Linked DNA regions of Homo sapiens: region 1 is linked to region 2. Evidence: promoter capture Hi-C in 16 types of primary human blood cells and fetal thymus (Javierre and others, 2016). All regions are on one chromosome and are shown on one strand. The core of a region is centred on a gene start or on the middle of the fragment in contact, and the rest is flanking DNA. Distances in the headings are between cores, read along the strand shown. Region 1 holds the start of OR2T1 (olfactory receptor family 2 subfamily T member 1). Region 2 holds the start of ZNF692 (zinc finger protein 692).

Evidence for each region. The method cuts DNA at HindIII sites, captures the fragments that hold promoters and counts their contacts. A CHiCAGO score of 5 or more calls a contact.
Region 1: a fragment that was not itself captured here is called in contact with the fragment with the promoter of ZNF692 in region 2 in 7 of 17 cell types (neutrophils, total CD4 T cells, naive CD8 T cells and 4 more); the score reaches 12.6 in neutrophils.

The regions. Positions count from the first base shown.
Region 1 is chr1:248,397,982-248,405,267 of GRCh38, reverse strand. OR2T1 (olfactory receptor family 2 subfamily T member 1) reads right to left here and starts at 2,220. Exons shown (of 2, transcript NM_030904.2): 1 at 2,023-2,220. RefSeq lists a silencer at 4,814-5,014. The HindIII fragment of the contact is 1,708 bases long and covers 469-2,176 here.
Region 2 is chr1:248,857,835-248,865,578 of GRCh38, reverse strand. It overlaps ZNF692 (zinc finger protein 692), which reads left to right and starts at 6,494. Exons shown (of 12, transcript NM_017865.4): 1 at 6,494-6,661; 2 at 7,258-7,448; 3 at 7,720-7,744. The coding sequence starts at 7,270. ZNF692-DT (ZNF692 divergent transcript) reads right to left here and starts at 6,415. Exons shown (of 3, transcript NR_186117.1): 1 at 6,333-6,415; 2 at 2,792-2,950; 3 at 783-1,002. RefSeq lists enhancers at 1,809-1,948, 2,419-2,678, 6,010-6,159, 6,960-7,009, 7,610-7,689 and a silencer at 6,300-6,799. The HindIII fragment of the contact is 15,686 bases long and covers 1,478-7,744 here.

The DNA of each region.
Region 1 (7,286 bases), core at 73-2,572, 460 kb after region 2:
TACAATTTCAGGTTACAATAAAGAAACAAATATCCACAACAAACTTCATGGAAGTAAAGGATGATTTTTCACATTGTTTAAGGCTAAAAGTGTCCCAAGAAAGACATTTTACCAACATATTTGGGAGTAAAATTGATCAAACTAGTCTAGTGCTCCTCTAAATATTCTAAAAATATTAGCATTTGAGTCAATTGCCCAGAAAAAGAAGTTGCTATTGAGAATAATGATGATGACATCGTGGAGTTTATTTTGCAAAGTGTCATGCTAAGAAGTACTTTGTAACTATTGACTCCCTGATCTTCACAATAAAACTAAGAAGTGAGGAGCTATAAAAGCCCCTCTCACCAATGACAGCATTGAGGGTAACGTGTTGGTGGTCACGGGGTCTGTTAGTGCCAGGAGTGTTTGGACTAGATAGTCTCAATTCATTATATATTCATACACATGGCATTGTGTATATAGGAAGCTTTATATGGGAATAGCAGCTAGACATTTACTGTAATTAGCAAATAAAATGTACCAAGCATGTGAACCTGCTAAATTGTTAACAATGTAATAACTAATGTGACTAATGAAAATTAGTCATACTTGAGAGTAGATCACATAAATTATTATAATCAGGATTGCTGTTTTATGGATATAAACTATGTGTACAGATATACACACATATATAAAAATGTACACATAGATACATCATATGTATATTTTATATATATATATAATGTATATTTTGCTAATTCAGAATATTTGGTGTCAGGTTTTATACATTTTTATGATACTATGTACAATGTCATCATTACTTACAACCTCCCTCATTTTACTTTTTTTAGGTTTCATTAATGGAACCTATAAAAATATATTTCTAAAGGGAAACTCCTCTCCAGTTTATGTCGCAGCCTAAATATTAGCAGTATTTCAGCTACTTCCACACTTCCTACATTTTCGGTTTGACTTTTATCATGCGATAAGACACCAGAAACAGAGGGAAAATCATGTGCTGCTTCACAAAGTCAAACAGTGGTCTCTGCTGTCTGTTCACCCTTACTCCCATTTTATACACACACACACACACGTATATGTAATAGCACAGGGACATACATATTGAGGTATAACTCACCGATGATTTTTGGAAATTGGAATTTTTCCGTAGCTCTGGCAATTAAGAAAAACTGAGGGACTGTTTTATACAATTTCAGGTTACAGTAAAATCCACAACAAACTTCAAGAATATAAAGGATGATCTTTTATCCATTATATATATATATATAAGTATATACATTCATAATTTCCTCCCATAGATTTATATATGTATATATGTAACTCTTCTGTGGTTCTAGCTTTTTCTATGGCCAGCTAGCCCTGCAAACCTAGCAATGCAAAGGGAAATTCTAAAGTCTACTCCATTTTGCAGCCAAGTGGCCTTACTTTTCCTATCTGCATACAAAAGATCTAATTTATCAGAGAACAAGCCCTCCTCAAAGTAAATTATGATTTTAAGTAAAATGTTTTGTTAAATTTATTATCTGCTCTCTCACTAGAGTGAGCACAATAAGTAACTATACTTGTTGAATATCTCCTGGGCATAGATCATACAGCTTTGCTATGGTTTAGTACACATAAAAATAATCAGAAAATGTTTGGAATGATTCTGTGACTTTATATAGGCATTTGTTTCTGAAATGATGAAGGCAACATACAGTAAAACAAAATTTAGAATTAAATGAATTGAGTTCTTCCTCTGGTCACGACATTAATTAATTCTGTGACCTTGGATTATCTTCCTAAACACCCTGAGCCTCAGTATCTGCTTATATTAATTGATATAATAAACATTCAGGGTTACTTTAAGAATCAAATAAGAAATTTATAGTTACAGGTGCAAATATTTTATACAATACCAAGTAAAATGTAAGATATCTGCAAATTATTTCAAAACTATTGGTAAATGGGTGCAAATTCTCAATCTCTCATTTAAGCAATCTACATATTCAACTAAAATCTATGAATTTAAATTGCAAATACCTCCTGATCTTCAGAAAAGGTCTGTAAACCCAGGTGCTCCCAGTGAAGTTACATCAGCAGTTAAAGTCTATCTTTTCCCCCAAGTATCCTTTGACTTGAAAGGATTGTTACTTAGTAGAAATTCTCAGAAAAAACTGTGCATTTCAATTAAGCTTGCAGAACATCTAAATGCCTTTGAAGAGCAGAAGTATGCTTGGCCTGCAAATTTTGAGAAAATTATTTTTAAAAAGTTAGTGGATAAAATAGACATAATTTTATTGGATAAAATTGTCTTTTAGGCCTACCTAAACTATTTTTTATTGCATAATACCGTACACCAAGAGATAAATCAATGCATTTATGTTATCCTGACATTTGTAAATATTCTGTACTATTTTATAAGGCGTGCATGTTGGTTGAGTAGGGATGGCCGCAAATATTTTCCTCCCACATCACTACAGTTTGAAGGTAGGACACAATGCTTGCCCAGGACTGTGATGATCTCCAAGCCCATCCTTTAAATCAAGTGACAAGATAATTCCTAACTTGTAAGTTGCAGCCTTTGCTTGCTTCCCTATGACCACTGGTGAAGTTTCTGCCAAAGAAAAGAGCAAGCTCCATGCTCCTTCAATGCAGCAGCCTTGTTAGGAAGCTCTGCATTAGCTTAAATTAAAGCTGCTTCATGCAGGATTCTTCCTTGCCTTCTGAATCTGCTTGGAACCAGTTTTCTCTCTTTGCAACATTCAACATTTCATAATGTGAATATGACTACAAGGTTTTCTGTCCTCCTTCTCTATACCGGTCACACTTCTCCAGTTATTTTATGCATTCATGTATGAATTTTTTTCCAAAGTGCTCAACTTCCAGGTATTTACTGGGGATAGCTTTTGCAATGTCTATTTTAGAATATAATACCTCAATTTCAACAGATTACTGTAGGTGTGGTTTTTCCTGTACAGAATACACTGGCAATATTACTTTTCTGTTGTTATCGCAGACACATTGAGTCATTACATACACATTCAAACTTACAGTTACCTTTTCACATGAGAAGTTCTCAAGACAGGTCAATACAGTGCTGTGCAATTTTGAGACTAAATACAAAAATATATGTTCCTAGTTTTTCTCCGTGTTCCTAAATTCTGTTTAGTATTTCAAAAAGTTGGAATCATTAAGAATGAACTCATATTGAAATAATAATCATACAATTATTAGATAATAAAGCACTAATGTACTCTGACAATTTTAGAGTAACTTAGAACCACATTCTTCAACCCACACACACCTCCTACAAGACCCATAAAGAGACTACACACTAGAATAAACCCCTCTACTAGAGAGACCTGTTATTTCTGATGAGAGTTTATTTTATGCTTGGTGTGATGGACACTAAAAAAATGCCTGTGAATCACTGGCAAAGTGGATCTGAGAAATCCAGGTGTCTGCACATTCTTTGAAATCATTGTGGAAAAAAGGATTTTTAAAATGCTTGCACGTTTGACAGTCAGGCAACGAGTCTATGTTGGAAATTAGAATGCCTGTAGGAGTCTGCCTTACGTCAGCTCTGTGTCTTTAATGCAAGCATCTTCAACTCTCCAATCATCAGTGTTCTTATCTGTAAAACGAGGGGAAGGAGATAAAGACAATGCACTGTTCAGAGATTCAGGAAGCCTGGTTCATAGTCTGTACTTTAGAAACTAGGAGTAAGTACAGGTTTTTCCTTTAGATCTTTTGTGCCTTTCGAACAGTATTGTCCTTATCCTATCTAATTCATAAGACTAAAGTTTGCTTAAATTATTTTTTTAAGAAAAGCAGCAAACATTTAAGAAAAGATTCTTTGCACTGTTACACTCAATGGCATCCTTCTACCTGAGATTTACAACACTCACTCCATGTAATTCCCACAGATAATCAGACAGGCACTCTTTTTCTCAATGCACTTGCATTTGGCATGGAGGGAATGGGACAGTCATTCCTCATTATACTTGTGCCTGAGATTTCCAGCCCAGGAGTTGCAGACAACTCTGCCTCAACTTTCTTAGATCCAGTTTACGTAAATCTTGTTTATGTCATATAAAGAACGTAAATTCAGTCAGACCACAATGAAATGTTCTGGCAACCCGGTCATTTGCATATGCACCAAATATTTAAAGTGCTACTATGAGGAGGAGTCAGTCTAGGTGCTCATCAGCATTTGACTTCTTACCTGTGAAATTCCTGCATAATTCCAAAAGACCTGGATTTTCATTAAGGGAATAGGAAGAGTGGAACAAACAAAGTGAGTCTAAGTACAGCAGAAGCTCCTAGATGATCCATTTTAATTGCCTAATTTTACTGAGGGATGTTGCATCATTTAGACAAAACCTTAACTATTAAATCCAATTATTTAATTTTCAAAGAGCTTCATAAAGTAATGTATTCATGTGTTCTATATGTTCTCACATTTCTCATATCTCCTCTCATCCATGCAATCTGAATGCCACCCACTCAAAACAGCATGTGACACACATCACTAAGTAGACATCAAGGAATACAATATACATAATTTTCATAAAAATTATCCAAATATCTAATTTTATTCCAAACTGTATTCCAACAAAAGATGATTATCTGTCACTTACAGAGAGCTGAATCTGTCAGGATAGCCATTCAGAGTAGTAGATAGAGAAGGTTATGTATAATTTAGTAAATCAAAAACTTACTGGCAAACTACAACAACTTTATGTAACTAAACAAGCGATGAAGAACTAAGACTTTTTAGAAGGTTGAAGGTGATATTTTGCTAGAAGGAAAAATGATTAGATTTAGTAGACTTAAATTCTCATCTAACTTATACCAAGAAGAAAACACACAAAGCAATTCATAGTCATTGGTACCCACAACAGGAAATCCTTCAACATCTAGGCCATCTGGATGCCAAAGTGCTGTCAGCATGTTACCCTGAAGATCCAGTATGCATAGATTTCTAATTTGGATTTATGAACTTGGCATGACTGAAGGTATCCTTAGCAACTGATGATGGAGTTAGGACAAAGAGAGACATGCAACAAGTTTATTAGGAGCTATTTTTGTAATATAACTCTGCAGAAGGAAGTATTATTAAGCCAAACAAATAAATGCCACCTTAGAAATCCTTGAAACAATTTGCATTGCCAGGACAAATTGCATAAATTCTCCAGCCTTCTAGAAACATGTAATAATGTCTATTTCTTATCTTTACAGGGAAATATTTAGCAACTAAACAGGTCTGAAAAACTAAAAATGCAGGAAGAAAGCAGCAGACCAGTAAAGAGTGCCGAATTATTCTGGGTGTTCTGCTTTTGAGATCCCTGGAGCGACAAGGGAGCGCCCAGATTGAAAAGAGGCATGAGTTTAAATAGTTTTCTTTGAGGGACATGGAATGAAGTGCTCTGGGAAAGAGCAAGTTTCTTCCTTTTGGATCTCAGGAGACTTTAATGAGACGGACTTATTACAGCTAATGAGAAGTGTATTGATGGGGTGGAAAACAGTGAACATTTAAGTGACATGGGCTTTGAGAACATGTTTCAACTCCTGTGCTTCAAAGTGTAAAACTGATTTCCTGAGTGTTTCATCAGAAAGTTCTGCCAGCAGCTCTTCCTCACAGAGAAATGTGGGAACAAATGTGGAAAGCCATTAAAAAGATAAAAAGTAGCTTTATTTCTATTATATTTTAATAACATAACATCTGTTATGTTTGTTGGTAGTTTAATAATTATTATTTTATTTGAGCATAAAGGTAACGCATACCCATCGGGAAAAACATAATACCAGATAGGGTTATCGAAAACACATCATAGAGATGATTATCCTTACAAAATTGCATTTATACTGTATGTGTTTGTTTGTGTGTATGTTCGTGGGTATGTGTGTGTATGTACCAGTAAACTACAAGAGCTTTATGTAACTAAACAAGAGGTAGAGAACCAACAGAGAGACACATGCAGAAACTTAAACACTATAAATAGATATGGCATTTACACAACAACATATATGTGTGTGTGATGAGTGTCTGTGGGTTAACATGTAATTCCACAATTTGCATTGTTCACAAAATACAACATAAAAAGTGCCCCGATGTGAAATATTCTCCCAAACGTAGCATGCACTATCCACAAAGTACTATACTTTATGGATATGCTCAATATTATTTAATTAATGCTCCATTTTTATAACATACATACAGTTTTAATTCAGGGGACTAAAAAATAATGTGCTGATTAAATCCTTATGTCTAATTTGAGTATAGATTTTGGAAGTTTTCTTCATCGACTTTTCCTCAGTCAATATTATTTAATTCATTTGTGTGAATATTTTTAAAGTTTTGATTTTGTTAAGTTGCACCTCAAAAATATTATCATTTTTTATATTATCAATTCACATCTATATATCAATCATTTCATCTATCTATAAATAAATAAACACAAACACACAGATCTGGAAATTCTGATGTAAAAGGACTAGATTTAATGTTTTCTGTTGTTTTTCCTAGAAAGGTTAATTAATTTTTTTAACTTCAACTTTTTTTTTTTTTTTTTTTGAGACAAGAGTCTCACTCTGTCTTGCCCAGGCTGGAGTGCAGTGGCATGATCTTGGCTCACTGCAGCCTCCACCTCCAGGGTTCAAGTGATTTTCCTGTCTCAGCCTCCCGAGTAGCTGGGACTACAGGCATACACCACCACGCCTGGCTAATCTTGTATTTTCAGTAGTGATGGGGTTTCACCATGTTGGACAGGCTGGCCTCGAGCTCCTGACCTCAGGTGATCCATATGCCTTGGCCTCCCAAAGTGTGGGAATTACAGGCATGCACCACTGCACTCGGCCAACTTTTATATTTTTACTATTCATTTATTTAACTTCTTTTGAAAAAATCATTTTATTTATTTATTTATTCATTCCACTTTATTTGAGATTCATGGCGTACATGTGCCTGAGTGTATTGTGTGATGCTGAGGTTTGGATTATAAATGATCCCATCACTCAAGTAGTGAGCATGGTACCCAGCAGTTTTTCAACACCTACCCCCTCCCTTCCTCCCACCTCTAGGATGTAATGGTTGCCATCTTTGTGGCCAGGTGTTCAATGTTTAGCTCCCATCTGTGAGTAGGAACATCCAGTATTTGGCTTTCTGTTCCTGTGGTAATTCACGTGGGATGATGGCTTCTGGCTCTATCCATATTGCTGCAAAGGACAGGATTTCATACTTTTTTAATGGCTTCATAGTATTTCGTGGTGTATATGTGCCACATTTTCTTTTTTTTTTTTTT
Region 2 (7,744 bases), core at 5,245-7,744:
GTATGTGGCATTTGAGCAGAAATTTCAAGAGAGTCAAGGAGTGACTAGATAAAATATCTGAGGGAAGAGGGCTCCAGGGAAAGAGAAGAGCAGAAGAAAAGGCCAACAAGAAATGCAAAACAGACAGTATGGTTGAAACTGAGTGAGAGGACCTGGTGCTAGCCTTTGGATTGACAGTGAGTGAAAAGGAAGGTTTTGAGCTGTGTGATAAGATCTTTCCTGCTTTTCAAGGATCCCCTTGGCTGGTTATGGTGGCTCATGCCTGTAATCCCAACTCATGCCTGTAATCCCAAATCTTTGGGAGCTCAAGGAGGGAGGATCACTTGTGCCAGGAGTTTGAGACCAGCCTGGACAACATAGTGGGAGACCATCTCTACAAAAGATTTAAAGAATTTGCTGGGCATGTTGGCATGCACCTGTCGTCTTAGCTACTTGGGGGTTGAGATGGGAGGATTGCTTGAGCTAGGACTTCAAGGATGCAGTGAGCTGTGATCGTGCCACTGCATTCCAGCCTCAGTGATGGAACAAGATACTGTCTCAAGAAAGAAAAACAAAAAGGATCCTCTGGCTGCGTGTGGAGGGTAGAATATAGAACACAAGAGTAAGGCAGAGAGAACAGTTGAGAGGTGCTGCAAGCCACGTTGGTGGACTGGATGGCAACAGGCCGCGTGGCAAGCAAGATTTGAATTCTGGGTATATTTTGCAGGTAGAGTTAATAGGATTTGTTGATGTGCAAGAAGTAAATGAGCCACAAAAAGGATTTTTTGACCTGAGCAATAGAAGGAAAAAACTCATCATTTACTGACAAAGGGAAGGCTAAGGGGAGGCAGATTATGGAGGAGGGAGAGTTCAGTTTTAGACCTTCCAGTTTGAGATACCTAATAGATGTGTCAAGTAAGCAGTTAGGAACGATCCTCTGGAGTCCAGGGGAGAGGTGATGCTTTGTGATCAAGTCCTGTCCATTTAGTTTTCAAGGTAAAGCATCTTTCATTATGGTCTGTCCTAGGGGAAAAAGCATGGTGTGGTTAGCCTCTGCATGAGTACCCAGAAAGTCTAAATATAGGCCAAAGGCTAGAAATAAGTATAGGCTTGAAGCCCAAGGCCCTAATCTAGTGGATCACAGTCTCTGCTCAGGGCTCCAAATGGGATGTTTAGTCACAAGCTGTTTTAGGTGCTCCTGGAGAGAGTGAACTGAAGACTAACAATGAGGAAAGGGGAGACAGAGAATTCTTTAGTTCCCACCATGTTTCCCAGTTCTGACTGGTGGGAGGCTTCATTTCTAACCAGCTGAATGAGCAGTGTGAGGAGGGTAAGATCTACCAGGTCCTGGTGGGTGGAAGCATGGAGAGAGAGCTAGGGCACAACTCAAAAATAGTCTGGTGAGTGGACTAAACAGGAGGGGAATGCAACAGGAATAGAACTAGAAGAAATGTCTTCAAATTGTTGGTGGCTCACCAACTCTTCTGTATTAGAAGCTTAATGCTGGAAGATGGCTGAAGAGAAATGGTTGTTTCATTTTTTAGCCCAAATGCCAAACTTTTTAGGTACAGAAGGAGGAAATGAGATGAGGCAAGGAAAAGGGGAGAAGATGAAGGAGAGAAAGAGGGGGCAAAATTATGCAATGAGAGAGTCAGAGGCGAGCAGGAGGAAGGGGCAGTTAGAAGTAAAACAGAAGGAACAACATTATAGCACCCAGGCTGTTCATGCTGAGGGGCACCTGCAGGTCAGTGCTGGTCTGCCCTCAGCCCTCACCTCGGCCTCCCTCCTGTGCTCATTGGCGCCCAAAGTCCAGAGGGGGCCGAGGCAGCAGGGGGCTGGCATGTCAGCGCTGCCCGAGTGTGCGCACACCCGGCCGGGTTGCAGTAGCGCCGGCCTTGGCCTCAACTTTGCTCTGAGATGAGAGTGGGCACTGGGAGCAGGGAGCAGCCAGGCACTGGGAGCAGACATTTCAGAGCCCGTGGAGCAGGCACCAGGAGCGGGGAGAGACCAGGCAGCAGAACCAGGCATTTCTGAGCCTCCGCGGGCAGCGGGGTCCTTCCCAGCCCCTGGAGAGTGAAGAGATGCCTGGGTCTGCAGCCACAGCTTGAGCCGCAGTAGCTGTGCCTGGGAGGGCGGGCTCCTGGCTGCTCCTGGCCCCCAAGAGCACAGGGAGGCCTTGGTCGGCAGCCACAGCCGGGCGGCAGAGGCTGCACCCGTGAGCGCGAAGGTCCCACCCTATCAACTCAGGAGGGGGCGGGGCTTCTGCCTGTTCCTGGCTCCACTCGCTTCATGGAGCGCTGCAGCCAGCATCACGGCAGTGGCCACCCTAGACGGGCTGCTGCTGCCATCAGCACAACCACAGCGAGGGTGGGCAGCTGCTGCTTCAGCACCAGGAGCAACATGTCGCTCCGCTGCCGGCGTCGCGGGCTCCGCCGCGTCAAGCACCCCTGCAGACGCTGAATTTACCACGGCGAGTCTCTTGGCGGCTGGCTTCCTCCTCCTTCATGTCGTCTGCCCTCCGGCCCGGAGCCAAAGCTAACAGGACCAACCCAGGCAGCTGGGCCAGCCAGGAGCAAGGGCAACCGCATCTCTTGTATACCACCCCACCCTACCTGGGCCACATGGCATCACAGAGCGCCCAGGTCAGCCGCACTAGGGCATGATCAGACTCAGGGTAGAGGCACCACCCTTCAGTTGTCAGGGGCTCAGGGGAAACGGAATTGCACTCCCAGCAATGATGACTAGTTGGAGGATGAAGACACCAGTCACTGAGAGGATGAGGGCTGAGAAAGAGGGAGGTTCATGCAAATACCTGGAGCTGGGCTGGGCTGAGGGTGTCTGTGGGTCTCGTGGAATTTGGGGTACAAAGTCCTGAAGGAGTGTTCCTTTTCCCACTGGGAATACATCTCAGGATTTGAGGGCAGTGGGTTGACTCAACTTCTGTAGCAATTTGGCTCATTCCTCCTTGGATCTGGAGAGTGGAAAGTAGTTTTTCTCTTTGGAGAGAAGATACTAAAAGTTCAGAGGGTACAGCAATATTAGATTTGGCTGTGCCAAAGCAGGAGATAAGAAGAGCGCTATGGTGCCATGCATAGTCCAGGAAAAATAAATGTTATGAAGATAAATATGTCCTCCACATGGACCCTTTTATGTGTATAAAAGAATTGGCAGTTTCAGCAGTCTGTAAACTGTAAAGCTCAACAGTGACAAAAATACAAATAGCTCACATTTAATCTTAGCCTTTGTAATGGGATGCTAAGATGGAATTCAAGGTCTCAGACTGCAATGAGGTCACTAAAGGCAGAGAACCAATGTTTACAGAGAACCCCTCCTTAAAATGTTAGCACTCCCTTGCAGCACTTACAAAGGAAGGGGCTGGTGACTGTTTTTGAGAGAGTTGGCTCATTCCTTACCTAGATGATATAAGAAATTAAAGAGAGGCTGAGAGATTTATTTGGAGACGGTTATTGAAGAGCTGGGCATTGGCAGTAATTTCATTTTATTATTTTAAACAAGATCAAACCAAGAGAACCAAAAATGTTCTTGGGTCTCAAAGTGAGACCCAACATTCTAAGAGTAACCAAGAATTACAAGACCTTTCATTCCCTTGGATGAAACCACAAGGATTTTGCAGATATCTATTAAGGGACCATGAGGAAAGGATAAAGTTTGTTCTCGATGGAGTCCTGCTCTTTTGATGTGAAAGTTACACTTTCATTAATGAGTAAAGTAGCTGGAAAAGTTACACATTCATTAATGAGTAAAGTAGCTGGGACATCTTCCTTCCTACCTTACACTAGTCAGACAAGTATGTTGAGTCACTGATACCACAAATCAAAAGGAATATGCACAGGACACACTGGGCTCATCCTAAGGGTGTTCATGTTTGCACACCATGTCATTTGAGATATTTAGGCTGCAGAGGAGAAGGCTGGGCTAGTCAACAATCATCGTATACCAATAACAAACACACAAACAAGTCCCTGAGATGATTTCAGAAAGTAAGTGCCATGAAGAAGATACAATAGGGCACAGTGAGGTAGAGCATGACTGAGGAAAGGGAGCTTTCTGAATGAGGGATTTTATAGCTGAGTGGGTGATCTTATAGCCGAGATTTACAAGATGAGAAGGGAGCAAACAGATGAACAGCTGGGTGGTGGGCTGGGGGATGGGGTGGGGGCTGAGGGGAGAATTGAGTGCTCCAGAGACAAAAGAACTCCCTCTAGGATACTTGGCACACTTGAGAAATAGCAAAAAGGTGGGAGGACAAAGTGGGAAAAGTTGGGGGATGATGCCAGAGAAGAAGCCAAGGGCCCAATTAAGTAGGTCCTTGAGGCCATGATAAGGATTTTGGATTGCACCACTCACAGATTTTAAGCAAAAGATTTGATCTTTGAGGAAATTTTCCCTGCTTTGTGAGAGTACAAGTTAAAGTAGGAGGCAGATCCATTAGGAAGATGTAGCCACAGACCAGGTGAGAGATGATAGTGGTATGGTAGGCTTAAAAATAGTCCCAGAAAAGATATCTGTGTCCTAATCCCCAAAACTTGTGGAGATTACTTTATTTTATTTTAGATGGAGTCTTGCTCTGTCACTCGGGCTGGTGTGCAGTGGTGCAATTTCGGTTCACTGCAACCTCCTCCTCCTGGGTTCAAGCAATTCTTCTGCCTCAGCCTCCCGAGTAGCTGGGATTATAGGCCCATGCCACCATGCCCAGCTAATTTTTTTTGTATTTTTAGTAGAGACAGGGTTTCACCATGTTGGGCAGGCACATCTCAAACTCCTGACCTCAAGTGATCCACCCGCCTTGGCCTCCCAAAGTGCTGGGATTACAGGCGTGAGCCACCGTGTGCAGCCGATTACTTTATATGGCAAATACTTTACAGAAGAAATTGTCTTAGGATACTGAGATGGAGAGATTATTTGGATTATAAGGATGGACTCTAAATGCATTCACAAGCATCCTTGTAAGAGAGAAGCAGAGGGAGATTTGACACAGAAGGAGGCAATGTGACCTCAGAGACAGAGATTGGAGTGACGTGGCCACAAGTCAGAGAATGCTGGCCACCATTAGAAGCTAGAAGAAGCAAGGAAAGGATTCTCCCCTAGAGCCCTTACAATGGCCTGTGGCCCTGCTGATGCCTTGGCCTCCAGAACTGTGAGAAAATAAATTTGAGTAAAGGGAGCAAGTTTGTGGCTGAAAACAACACACAACACAATTTGTTACAACAATTACAGAAAATTAATACCAGTGGCTTGGAGTAGGGTTTTAGCAGTTGAGAGGGTCAGAAGTGATTGGATTTAAGATAAATTTTTGGAGACAGGACCAACAAGATTTGCTGATGTATATGGTTTAGGTATCATAAAAGGCAAAGAATCAAGGCTGATTCCCTTTTTTCTGAACAAGTGGGTGGATGATGACATAGTTTACTGGCATGGGGGAGGGTACAGGCGTTATTGTTATATGTTTGCCATATTTATGTTGGAGAAAATATCAGCTATCATGTGTCAGCGCTCTCTACATGCCAGGCACTGTCCTACATTCTTTACACGTGTTAGCTCAGTTAACACATGTAAGTCAAGCGGGCAGTAAGATATATGACTGGAGTTGAAAGAGGGCTAGGCTAGGAGCCATCAGTGTATTTAAAGCCATGGAACTAATTAGATCACCCAGGAGAACATATGCAGACGAGAGAAGATCTGGTTCAAGGCCTGAGCCAGGGCACACTTCATCTTTTGGCAGAACAGAGGGAATGGATCCAAAAAAAGGATAGAAGGAGCCAGTGAGGAGGGTGGAAAACCTGGAGCATATGAAGTCACAGAAGTAAAACTGGGGCCCAAAATGTAGAGGGAGCCATAAAGATGAGGAGGACGAGAGCTACATAGTCGCGCTCTTTCTAGGGCAGAGAGGCGGACGGAACTGACAGCTGCTATGTAGCAATATGACCGTCTCAAGTGACCTTGTGAAGCGCCACTGCAGTGGCTGGGTGGGGAGGAAAGCTCCATCAGAGCCATTTGAAGAGAAGAGGATGGGAAGTGAGCGTACACAGAGAATGCAGGCAACTTTTAGGAGGAATTCTGATGGTAATAGAAGTGGGCTGTAGCTGGTGGGACTCTGCGGTCCACAGAGGGCTCTAGCTGGACCCTCTGTGGGTCTTTCAAAGTGACTGATTCTGCATCATGTTTGCGGGTGGCAACTGTGAGGGGGAAATCGAAGGTGAATACAAAACGGGAACAAGTGAAGAGGCAACGTCCCCATACAGGCCGGGTGGGCTGGGGTTGGAGCACAGGAGGCCTGACCCTGTCTCTTCCACTTTCCCTCAAACCTTTGGTCACCAAGCGCAGACGCTCACCACAGAAGCCACCCAACCACAACTGCCGCGGGGCTCCGCGACACGCGCGGGCGACTTGAGTCGGGCAACCACGATTCCCGGCGGGCGTTGCGCGGGGCACCCAGTGCGCAGGCGCACGGCGTCGGCCTCCGACTCGCCCCTCCCTCTGGGGCGCGGGCCTCAGTTCCGGGCTACAGCAGCCGACGCCGAGAGGCACCGTTTCTTCTTAAAAGAGAAACGCTGCGCGCGCGAGGTGGGCCCCTGTCTTCCAGCAGCTCCGGGCCTGCTCGCTAGGCCCGGGAGGCGCAGGCGCAGGCGCAGTGGGGGTGAGGGCGCGTGGGGGCGCACAGGTAAGGCCGGGGTGGGGGTGGGTCGCGACGGGGGCTCTGGGCAGCCTGGGAACTGCCATTGGGATTAGTCCGCTCCACTCACTGTCAGCATTAAGTGGGGGTGCCCAAGACGGGGTGGATGGGGGGCGCCCTCCAGACCTCTGACCACGGCCTCACCGCCACTCGACCCAACTATGAAGAGCGCCCCCAGCTGCACGCCAGGACACGACCTTTCCTTCCCCTAGAAACCAGTAAAGGCCGCTGCCCTATTCAAGATGAAATGTGTGGACCGCCCCCAGCCCAGTTGAAATTTCCCGTGAAAGTCTCTCGCCCCTTCCCCACAGCTCCACTTCAGTGGACTGGAGGGCGCAGGCCTTTGTTCTGACTGCTTCTGTCTGCCTGCCTCCCACCCGACGACACTCACATGGTAGCGCTGAGCTTCAACACCCTGTATCATAGAAGGACGGGGTTTGGCTCCACACCTGCCACTGCTATTGAAATAGTTTAGTCTTGCCCCAGTTCACTGATGAGGAAACTGAGGCCCTAACGGCAGGTGGAGCCGGGTCCCCGACCCCCGAGATCGGCAGGGCGCTGAAGACGTCCCTTCCACCCTCCAGCCTCTGGTGCACATGGCTTCCTCCCCGGCGGTGGACGTGTCCTGCAGGCGGCGGGAGAAGCGGCGGCAGCTGGACGCGCGCCGCAGCAAGTGCCGCATCCGCCTGGGCGGCCACATGGAGCAGTGGTGCCTCCTCAAGGAGCGGCTGGGCTTCTCCCTGCACTCGCAGCTCGCCAAGTTCCTGTTGGACCGGTTAGGGGCCGGGAGAAGGGCTTGGGGGAGGGTACCCAGGCAGCAGCCCCTAGCCTCCTCTCCAGGGCCTGTCCTGCTGCTCTTTTCCACCCTCAGGTTTCTCACTTTACCAGGACGGCCTGTGTGACTTGTGGCCTCCGAGGGTCCTGCTCCCCTCCTCATGGTCTCAGCGAATAGCGGCCCTTAGGGCTGGCCCCTTACATGTGTGAGTGCCCAGGGCTGAGGGTGGCTGGCCACCTGAGTCCTGACCTGCCTCTTCTCCTGCTGGCAGGTACACTTCTTCAGGCTGTGTCCTC